Linked DNA regions of Homo sapiens: all the other regions are linked to region 1. The links are contacts of gene promoters, found by promoter capture Hi-C in blood cells and fetal thymus (Javierre and others, 2016). All regions are on one chromosome and are shown on one strand. Each heading gives the region's core, a stretch centred on a gene start or on the middle of the fragment in contact. The rest is flanking DNA. Distances are from core to core; before and after follow the strand shown. Region 1 holds the start of IGFLR1 (IGF like family receptor 1). Region 2 holds the start of NPHS1 (NPHS1 adhesion molecule, nephrin). Region 3 holds the start of APLP1 (amyloid beta precursor like protein 1).

Region 1 (3,101 bases), core at 414-2,913:
CCCTTTCCACGCGGCCCCTATCCCGCCTCTCCAGCCATATCCATTCGCTGTTGCCCTACGGTAGCCCGCACTATCTGCACAGGCTCTGCCTGCCATCCCTGTCTGATCTGCATAAGGCCCACCGCTTAGACCCCTAAGCAAGCCTCTCTGGCCCGTAGCCCACAGACCTCGCCCCTTCCCCGCTCCCTATCACCTGCAAGCTCCGCCCAAGCAAGGCTCGGTCTCGGATTCTCACCCGGGCAGGGGGGCGGCCCGAAGCGTTGCAGGCAGCTGCTGCAGCACTTGTTGTCTGGGTTCCAGTATTCAAGGCGGCCGCAGTACTGGGAGGCTTCCGGCGGTGGCGCCAGGGCCAGAAGCAACAAGGCCGTCAGGAGGCATCGTCCAGGCCCCATCTGGGGGGCCGTGATAGCGGGACTTCCAAACACAGCGCCTCTGCTACACTTTCCGGGGAAATCGGGCAGAAGAAAGGACGCGGTGATGTGGGGGAACAGAATTCTCACGCCTCTTCGGAAGCCGGGAATCTACCCCCGAGCCCTCATCCCCCAACTGAGCCGGTTATCAGAGAAGCCCACAAGGCCACTAGGGGACTAACAGGGCTGCGGATCTAGATTGCAAGAATGCATATCCCACCTCTGCCGTGTCCTCACCCACCCACCCTCCCTTTTCCATCCCTAAAATAAGACAATGATAGCACCTGTCTCATAGGGTTATTGTGGAGAATTAGAACCGTCATTAGAAGTAAAGCAGGGGCTGGGTGTGGTGGCTCATGCCTGTAATCCCAACACTTTGGGAGGCCAAGACAGGAGGATCACTTGAGCCCAGGAGTTCGAGAGATCAGCCTGGACAACAAAATGAAACCCCATCTTTACAAAAAAAAAAAAAAAAAAAAAAAACAGCAAAGCACTTTGCCAAGTGCAGTGGCTCACGTCTGTAGTCCCTGCTACTAGGGAGGCCAAGGTAGGAGGATTGCTTGAGCCATGAATTACAGACCAGCCTGGGCAACACAGCAAGACCTCATCTCTAAAAACAAAAAAAACTGGCCGCCGGGCGCAGTGGCTCATGCCTGTAATCCCAACACTTTGGGAGGCCCAGGTGGGTGGATCACCTGAGGTCAGTAGTTCAAAACCAGCCTGGCCTACATGGTGAAACCCTGTCTCTATTAAAAATACAAAATTAGCCGGGCGTGGTAGCGCATGCCTGTAAATCCCAGCTACTTGGGAGGCTGAGGCAGAATTGCTTGAACCTGGGAAGTGGAGGCTGCAGTGAGCTGAGATCGTGCCATTGCACTCCAGCCTGGGCAACAGGAATGAAACTCCTTAAAAAAAACAAAAACAAACTAAAGTGCTGAAAACAGCACCTCACATACAGTAAACTCAGTGTTTAAGTGTAAGGCATTACTAACTCCCATCACAATTCGGCAGGCACGGAGGAGTCAGCCCCATACTGGCTGGAGACCACCTCCCAGCACCTCACCTCACCTTTGAATCCTAATCTCCTTGGGGCTAGGGCTCCTCCCACCTGCCACAACCAGGTCTCTCCCCCTTGAATAAGCCTCAGATGGAGGTGCTAAGGTTTTCAGCACAAAGGTGTCCCCACCCTACCAGTACCGTTAGGGTCCTGGGTCCCAAGCTGGCCGTGCCAAGTTCCTCAGCTGAAGTTGTGGCCAGGACCCAGTCTTGTTTCCCCTTTTCGTCACATGTGTGGGTGGAGGGAAATGCCAAACCACAGCAAAAGCAAGTTGATGCCGAAGTGAAACACGCAGCTTTATTAAGACAGGGGCGGTAGAAGAAGGTCTCCATGCTGAACAGATTACATTATGGAGCCCGGGAGCCTGGGAAGGATGGGGCAGGAGAGTGAAGGGGGCTTTGAGGAGAGGTCCTGCCAGGAACATCTGTCCCTGTTGGGGGTGAAGGGTAAGGGGGCCAGGGCCTCAGAAGCGGCCATGCCAGTGATCAGGGGAACACCGATGGTTCCTCTCTCGGGGATGGTGGCCAGTATGGAACCTCGGGGGTGACCTGGGAATAGGAGCGTTGAGAGTTCTGTTAGAACCCTGAGGAGTGGTGCAGAGATCCTGCAGGCCTGCCTCTCTGCTCTGGGATGAGGCAGGAGGGTGCTGAAATAACTAGAGTTCTAAGACACGACCTCAGTGGCCAGTATCAGGGGAACTCAGTGGCCAGTATCAGGGGTGGCAATCCAGGCTGGTCGTGGATTAGGGGTTCAGGCTGGTTTGGGGATTGGGACTTAGGTACTGGTCTCCAGATGGAGCTCAGAACTACTCTTAGGGTATAAGAGTCTTGGGAATGACCGGGCGCAGTGGTTCACGCCTGTAATCCCCACACTTTGGGAGGCCGAGATGGGTGGATTACCTGAGGTCCGGAGTTCGAGACCAGGCTGGCCAACGTGGTGAAACCCCATCTCTACTAAAAATACAAAAATTAGCCAGGCATGGTGGCAGGTGCCTATAATCCCAGCTACTTGGGAGGCTGAGAAAGGAGAATTGCTTGAACCTGGGAGGCAGAGGTTGCACTGAGCCAAGACTGCGCCTTTGCACTCCAGCCTGCGGAAGAAGAGCAAAACTCCGTCTCAAAAAAAAAAAAAAAAAAAAAAAAAAAAAACAGTCAGCCGGGAGTGGTGGCTCACGCCTGTAATCCCAGCACTTTGGGAGGGTGAGGCAGGTGGATCACGAGGTTAGGAGTTCAGACCAGCCTGGCCAAGATGGTGAAACCCCATCTCTACTAAAAACACAAAAATTAGCCGGGCATGGTGGCAGGTGCCTGTAATCCCAGCTATTTGGGAGGCTGAGGCAGAGAATTGCTTGAACCCGGGAGGCGGAAGTTGCCATGAACCAAGATGGTGCCAATGCACTCCAGCCTGGGCAACAGAGTGAGGCTCCATCTCAAAAAAAAAAAAAAAAAAAAAAGATTCTTGGGAACGTGGTTACTGGGGCTTAGGGTTAGGCTCATCTGAGGATATAGGGGCCTTAGGACATGAGGAGACATAGCAGGCTGGTCCTGAGGTACCTGCGCCTGGGTCCCCGCCCATAGAGCTGCCTCTGGAGGTTCTGGGAAATGGGCCGCAGATGCATGAAGTTGCAGAAGCCA
Region 2 (3,213 bases), core at 1-2,500, 110 kb after region 1:
ACCCATACCCAGGATGGAGAGGATCACTCTGGGAGACACGAGCTCGGGCCCCATCTCAGAGCGGCCGACCTGGCACTCATACTCCGCGTCATCGCTGAGGTCACAGGCCTCGATGTGCAGGTGGAATTCACCTGCAGGGGGAGCCGGAAGTCAGGGCCGCAGCTTCCGCTGGTGGCTGAGGGTCTCAGGCTCTGATCCCTTACCTCTAGCAGGGTCCCCTTCCAGGCGGTACCTCGGGAAGCCTGGGATCCTGGGGTCGGGGCCCAGGAGCAGCCCATCTTTGGCCCATTGCACCGCACTGCCAGGGGTGCTGACCCCACAACGCAGCTCCACTGAGGCCCCCTCCACCACCGTCAGGTTTTCAGGCAGGGCCCAGAAGCCCCGGGGAACGGAGGCAGGAATCGCCAACTGCGCCAGGCCTGAGGACACAGCGCGGTGCAAGGAAAGGGCAGAGGGTTTGTCTAGGGAAGGTAAGTGGGAAATGGGGGCCACTTGGCGCTGGGTACAAGGCTGGGATCCCACTCACCTTCAGTCAGCAGCCCCAGGAGCAGGAGAGAAGCCCTGAGCGTCGTCCCCAGGGCCATCACAGGTCCCCCTACTGTGACCCCCACAGCGCCCGCTGCCAGCCACCTGCGTCTGTCTGGCTTTCTCTGGGTCCCTCTCTGTGTGTCTCTGCCACCTGCTTTTCTTTTTTATCTCTTTCCGTTACTCTCCTCCCTTTCTCGTTTTCCTCTTCCCCTCTTCCCTGTGAGTATCTCTCTCTGTCTTGCTCTCAGTCTCAATCTCTGAGTCTCTTTCTCTGTCTCTTTAAAAAAACTTTTTTTTCTTTTTTCTTTTTTTTTTCTTTTTTTTTTTTTTAGAGACGGGGTCTCACTATGTTGGCCAGGTTGATCTCAGACTCTTTCCTTCAAGCCATCCTCCCACCTTGGCCTCCCCAAGTGTTGGGATTACAGGCGTGAGCCACTGCGCCCAGTCTCTTTATCTTTCCATCTTTCTCTCCTTGTCTAAGCCGTTCTCTCTCCTTTTGTCTCTGTCTCTTCCTCTCTCTCTGTCTCTCTCTCTCTCTCTCTCTCAATCTCTATCTTCTCTCCTGCCACCCCTCACTCCTGCTCCTTGTCTCACTACTCACAGCCTTTCAAGAAGGACCTGCAGCCCAGAGTCCAGCAGGCCAGGAGCCTAGGAGAGCGATGAGGCTGATGCAGGCACTGGCAGAGTCAGCCCTGCTCTCTGACCCAGCTTGAGCTCATTCTCACAGTGCAACCTCCCCCAGGTACCTTCCAGAGCCCCCAGCTCTGGCCTCTGCCCAGCAGGCTCCTCCCAGCTGGCCCAGCTGGAGCATAAAATCCCCTGTCAGCACATGCCAGGCGCGTTCCTCGGTGCCTCCCCAGCCTCCGTGACCCCAGGGCCTGGCTTAGGCTGGGAAGATGGGAGAAGTCAGATCAAGGTGGTCTCCCAGCTCAGCAGGGGAGCAGCCAGCTGGGCCCCCAGCTCTTCCTTGCCCTGATACATGACCTTGGCAAGTCTCTTTCTTTCTTTCTTTCTTTTCTTGAGATAGTCTTGCTCTGTTGCTCAGGCTGGAGTGCAGTGGCATCTCGGCTCACTGCAACTTCCACCTCCCATGGCTTGAACCTCCCAGGTTCAAGTAATTCTCCCACCTCTGTCTCCCAAGTAGCTGGTGCTACAGGTATATAGCACCATGCCTGGCTAATTTTTGTATTTTTACTAGAGACGGGGTTTCATCATGTTGGCCACGCTGGTCTCGAACTCCTGACCTCAGGTGATCCATCTGCCTCAGCCTCCCAAAATGCTGGGATTACAGACATGAGCCACCGCACCTGGCCTCCCTTCCTTTTTTAGTAGACATCAGTGCCTAAATGATGTCAGGGATCTCTGCTGGGGAGGATGCAAGAGTGAGTGTGACAGGCTGGGAGAGTGTGGGAGAGAGGGAAGATATGCATGTGTGTACGTGGGTGTGAGAGTGGGGAAGGTTAGAGTGAACTGCGATCTGTAATAAGCATGTGGAGAGCGTGTGTGTGACAGTGTCTTACGTGGGAGTGCACAGGGTGTGGGCGGGAGTAAAAGGCAGAGTCCAATTCCACCGGCCCCCAGTGTGGGTGCAGTGTGAGCCCAAAGTGGGCGCCCTTTGGCAAGGACTGCATGAGCTTTCTTCTCCCTCTTTTTCTTGCCCTCTCTCCCATCTCTTCTTTCCTTCTCCATGTCTCTCTCTCTCCCTCCCTCTATCTATCTTGATTTATCTTTCTTTCTTTTGAGATGGAATCTTGCTCTGTTGCCCAGGCTGGAGGGCAGTGGCATGATCTTGGTTCATTGCAGCCTCAACTTCCTGGGCTCAGGTGATCCTCCTGCCTCAGCCTCCTGAATAGCTGGGACTACAGGTGCACACCACCACTCCAGCTAATTTTTTAAAATTTGTTTGTAGAGACAGGGTCTTTCTCTATTGCCCAGGCTGGAGTGCAGTGGTGTGATCATGGCTCATTGAAGCCTCAAACCTCCTAGGCTCAAGTGTTCTTTCTGCCTCAGCCTCCTGAGTAGCTGGGACTACAGGCCCGCATCACCACTCTGGCTATTTTTTTTTTTTTTTTTTTTTTTTTGAGAGGGAGTCTTGCTCTGTCACCCAGGCTGGAGTGCAATGGTGCGATGTTGGCTCACTGTAACCTCCGCCTCCCAGGTCCAAGCGATTCTCCTGCCTCAGCCTCCTGAGTAGCTGGGAATACAGGCATTGACCACCACACCCAGCTAATTTTTGTATTTTTAGTAGAGACGGGGTTTCGCCATGTTGGCCAGGCAGGTCTCGAACTCCTGACCTCAGGTAACCCACCTGCCTTGGCCCCCCAAAGTGCTGGGATTACAGGTGGGAGCCGCTGCACCCCGCCACTTGGCTAATTTTTTTTAAATGTTTTTGCAGAGACAGAGTCTTGCTATATTGCCCAGGCTTGTCTGGAACTCCTGGGCTCAAGCAATCCTCCCATCTCGGCCTCCCAAAGTACTAGGATTACAGGCATGAGCCACCGCACCTGGCCCTTGATTTATCTTTCTTTTTTTTCTTTTTTCTCTTTTTTCTTTTTTTGAGATGGAGTTTCACTCTTGTTGCCCAGACTGGAGTGTAATAGTGTGATCTCGGCTCACTGCAACCTCTGCCTCCCGGGTTCAGGCGATTCTCCTGCCTCAGCCTCCCTAGTAGCTGGGATTACAGGC
Region 3 (3,140 bases), core at 492-2,991, 130 kb after region 1:
TATTTCAAGATGACCATCTGCATTGAGAGGAAAGGTAGCATAGGATAGATGAAGATGAAGAGCATACCAGGCCCCACCCTGGCTCTCCCTGAGGGGAACTTTGCTCGGCCAATGGAAATGCAGCCAAGATGGCCATATACTCCCTAGGAACCCAAGATGGCCACCATCTTGATTTTACTTTCCTTAAAGACTCAGAAAGACTTGGACCCAAGGAGTGGGGATACAGTGAGAATTACCACTGTTGGGGCAAAATATTGGGATAAAAATATTTATGTTTAATAATAAAAAAAAGTCAAAGAGGCAAGTGTGTCTTAGGGAGTCTACTGGCATTATCACTCTCCACCAAGGAAGGGGTCCCTTAGACCTGTCCCAAGGTCCCTCCTCTACCCTAGCCTATGAGGTGGCTGTAGGAGTAAAACTGTGAGCCACCTCTCAGCCTCTTGCTACCTGCAAAGCACTCTAGGCTCTTTTTTTTTTTTTCTTGAGACAAGATCTGGCTCTATGGCCCACATTGGAGTGCAGTGGCATGATCTCAGCCCACTGCTACCTCTGCATCCTGGGCTCAAGCCATCCTTCCACCTCAGCCTCCCAAGTAGCTGGGACTACAGGTGCATGCCACCACACCCAGCTAATTTTTGTATTTGTTTGTAGACAGGGTTTCACCATGTTGGCCAGGCTGGTCTCAAACTCCTGACCTCAAGTGATCCGCCCACCTAGGCCTCCCAATGTGCTGGGATTACAGGCATGAGCCACTGTGCCCAGCCATGGGCTCTTTTAATATACATCTTCACACACACACACACACACACACACACGCACACACACACATGAGTTGCAAACAGAAAAGACACACACATAGGCATGTATGCACAGACACACGCATAGATGTCCACACAGTTGCACACAAGTGACAGGGCTGCCCCAGGGGTCCTGGGGAAGACTGAATTCTAACTCTCATTAGAGGAGACAAACAAGTGAGCCCTGAAGTGGAGCAGGGAAGGGGAGACTATGGGTAGGAAAATGGCAATCCCCTGGTCCTTACAGCAAGCGTGGAGATCCAGACCCTAATCCTGAGGTGCTGCATCCACAGTGGGCATGGTGCTGGTGCCTGCTTGGATGATCCTTAAAGAAAGGTCCTGGGGGCTTTGGTTCATGGATCCTTGAGCTAGGAGTTAAAGGTCCAGGCCCCTGGGACCCTTGGGAAGCAGAGCAAGAAGAGTGAACTCCTGGGTCTGAAGGAGAATGGGCTGGGGGCTTGGTCTCTGGTCCTGAGAGAGAAGGTGCCCAGACTTCTGGATCTGAAAGAGGAAGGGACTAGGTCTCAACTGCTGCCTTCTTGACTGGGGACATTTTGGAGGCCTGTATTCCTGAGCCCTCAACAGAGGAATGTACTAGGGGATGGGGGTCTCTGATGCTTGCATCCTTGGAAAAGGACAAAACTGTGAGTGTCTGGGTCTAAAGAGGGTGAGAGTCCTGCGGGAGGACTCAAAATCCACAACGGGCGGAGCCCATAGCCGGACTCCTGGCTGGGCCCTTCATGGGGCGGGACGCCTGGAATCTCGAGGGGCGGGGGCCTGGCGCAGGCTCCCGCCCGGGGTTCCCGAGCTGCTCCACTCTGCGCGAAGCCGCCACGCTATTGTCCTGACCAGGAAGGCGGGGCCGGCGCGGGGCGGGGCTGGCGGCGCCGGCGCAGCCCGGGGGCGGCGGGAGGAGGAGGTGGCGGCGGTGGCGCTGGGAGCTCCTGTCACCGCTGGGGCCGGGCCGGGCGGGAGTGCAGGGGACGTGAGGGCGCAAGGGCCGGGACATGGGGCCCGCCAGCCCCGCTGCTCGCGGTCTAAGTCGCCGCCCGGGCCAGCCGCCGCTGCCGCTGCTGCTGCCACTATTGCTGCTGCTTCTGCGCGCGCAGCCCGCCATCGGGAGCCTGGCCGGTGGGAGCCCCGGCGCGGCCGAGGTGAGGCCGGGCCGGGTCCTGGGGGATGGGGGAAGGGGCGGGACCGGGTCTCTGGACGCCGGCGCGGACATGTCCAGGGCAGAAAGCGCGGTCTTTCCAGCCAGGTGGTCAGCCCCCAGGCGCCCCCAATCACATTTATGAACCCAGGGTTCCAGGCCCCAGCTCCCCCATCATGCGACGTCCCAGCCCCCTCCCATCTCGAGCATAGGAACTGGTCTATTCAGAGCCCCTGGTCCCAGAAGTCCAGCCCCCTCTCCAGACCCAGGTGACTCGGCCCCAACCCCCTCCCGCCTGGACATAGGACCCACCAAGCAGCGAGGCATTTAGATCCAATAATCCAGACCCCTTGTATTCTCTGGACCCATATGGAGGCCCTTGCAGCCTCCCAGGACCCAGGAGTCCAGTCCTTCAGTCACCACCCACCCCAACCAGATGTAGCTCTCCAGTCCTCAAGGACCTGGTGTCCAGGACTGTAGGCCCCTGAAGCCAGGCCTTGTCAGCTTTGCATCCTGCAACGGGAGCCTGAGCAAGGGATGGAGGGAGGAGGGGCCAGAACTCCTGGGTTCTGGCCTCCTCCTCCGCGATTCAGGTTTAACCCCTTCGGGCTCCAGAGCGGCTGCGCTGGGGTGGGGGCGGAGTCTGTCTCCGCGGCAACAAGGCAGAAAGAATCCCGGGGGACCCAGGTCGCCATAGCAACGGGAGCGCTGGGGCGCCCCCGCCCTACGGGAGCTGTTTCCCAGGGAACGGTGCCTCCATGGAGGCGGTGTGCGGTGCTTGGGGGAGGGGGCTGGTGCTGGGGGTCTCGGTCCTAGGGAGCAAAGAACCAGGGGACCCTCATGCCAACGCCCCCCGAGCCCTCACTGTCCTTTCCACTTCCATCCAGGCCCCGGGGTCGGCCCAGGTGGCTGGACTATGCGGGCGCCTAACCCTTCACCGGGACCTGCGCACCGGCCGCTGGGAACCAGACCCACAGCGCTCTCGACGCTGTCTCCGGGACCCGCAGCGCGTGCTGGAGTACTGCAGACAGGTGGGCGGGGCCGAACGGGAGAGGCGGGGCCGCCCATAGAAAGCTAGACTTGAAAAAGGCGTGGTCCAGGGTGCTGCGCGATCTAAGGCGTGGAGGCTGGGGGGCGTGGCCAATAAAGAGGCGCAACTATGCTAGGGGCAGGGGACCTGTTTTGAGATACTA

What was found. The method cuts DNA at HindIII sites, captures the fragments that hold promoters and counts their contacts. A CHiCAGO score of 5 or more calls a contact.
Region 2: the fragment with the promoter of NPHS1 here is called in contact with the fragment with the promoter of IGFLR1 in region 1 in 9 of 17 cell types (M1 macrophages, total B cells, naive CD8 T cells and 6 more); the score reaches 8.7 in M1 macrophages.
Region 3: the fragment with the promoter of APLP1 here is called in contact with the fragment with the promoter of IGFLR1 in region 1 in 4 of 17 cell types (M1 macrophages, M0 macrophages, M2 macrophages and 1 more); the score reaches 6.6 in M1 macrophages.

What each region holds. Positions count from the first base shown.
Region 1 is chr19:35,740,789-35,743,889 of GRCh38, forward strand. IGFLR1 (IGF like family receptor 1) reads right to left here and starts at 1,664. Exons shown (of 5, transcript NM_024660.4): 1 at 1,608-1,664; 2 at 236-435. The coding sequence starts at 392. U2AF1L4 (U2 small nuclear RNA auxiliary factor 1 like 4) reads right to left here. Exons shown (of 6, transcript NM_001040425.3): 5 at 3,021-3,101; 6 at 1,739-2,015. The coding sequence ends at 1,931. RefSeq lists enhancers at 1-69, 1,417-1,846. The HindIII fragment of the contact is 10,043 bases long and covers 1-3,101 here.
Region 2 is chr19:35,851,254-35,854,466 of GRCh38, forward strand. NPHS1 (NPHS1 adhesion molecule, nephrin) reads right to left here and starts at 1,251. Exons shown (of 29, transcript NM_004646.4): 1 at 527-1,251; 2 at 204-419; 3 at 9-131. The coding sequence starts at 584. It also overlaps a transcript of KIRREL2 not described here. RefSeq lists enhancers at 1-537, 538-1,179. The HindIII fragment of the contact is 3,857 bases long and covers 1-3,213 here.
Region 3 is chr19:35,866,833-35,869,972 of GRCh38, forward strand. APLP1 (amyloid beta precursor like protein 1) reads left to right here and starts at 1,742. Exons shown (of 17, transcript NM_001024807.3): 1 at 1,742-1,951; 2 at 2,835-2,978. The coding sequence starts at 1,805. LOC107985317 (a long non-coding RNA gene) reads right to left here and starts at 2,525. Exons shown (of 4, transcript XR_001753932.2): 1 at 2,260-2,525; 2 at 1,043-1,298. It overlaps KIRREL2 (kirre like nephrin family adhesion molecule 2), which reads left to right. Exons shown (of 15, transcript NM_199180.4): 15 at 1-304. RefSeq lists silencers at 1,563-1,822, 1,913-1,982. The HindIII fragment of the contact is 13,044 bases long and covers 1-3,140 here.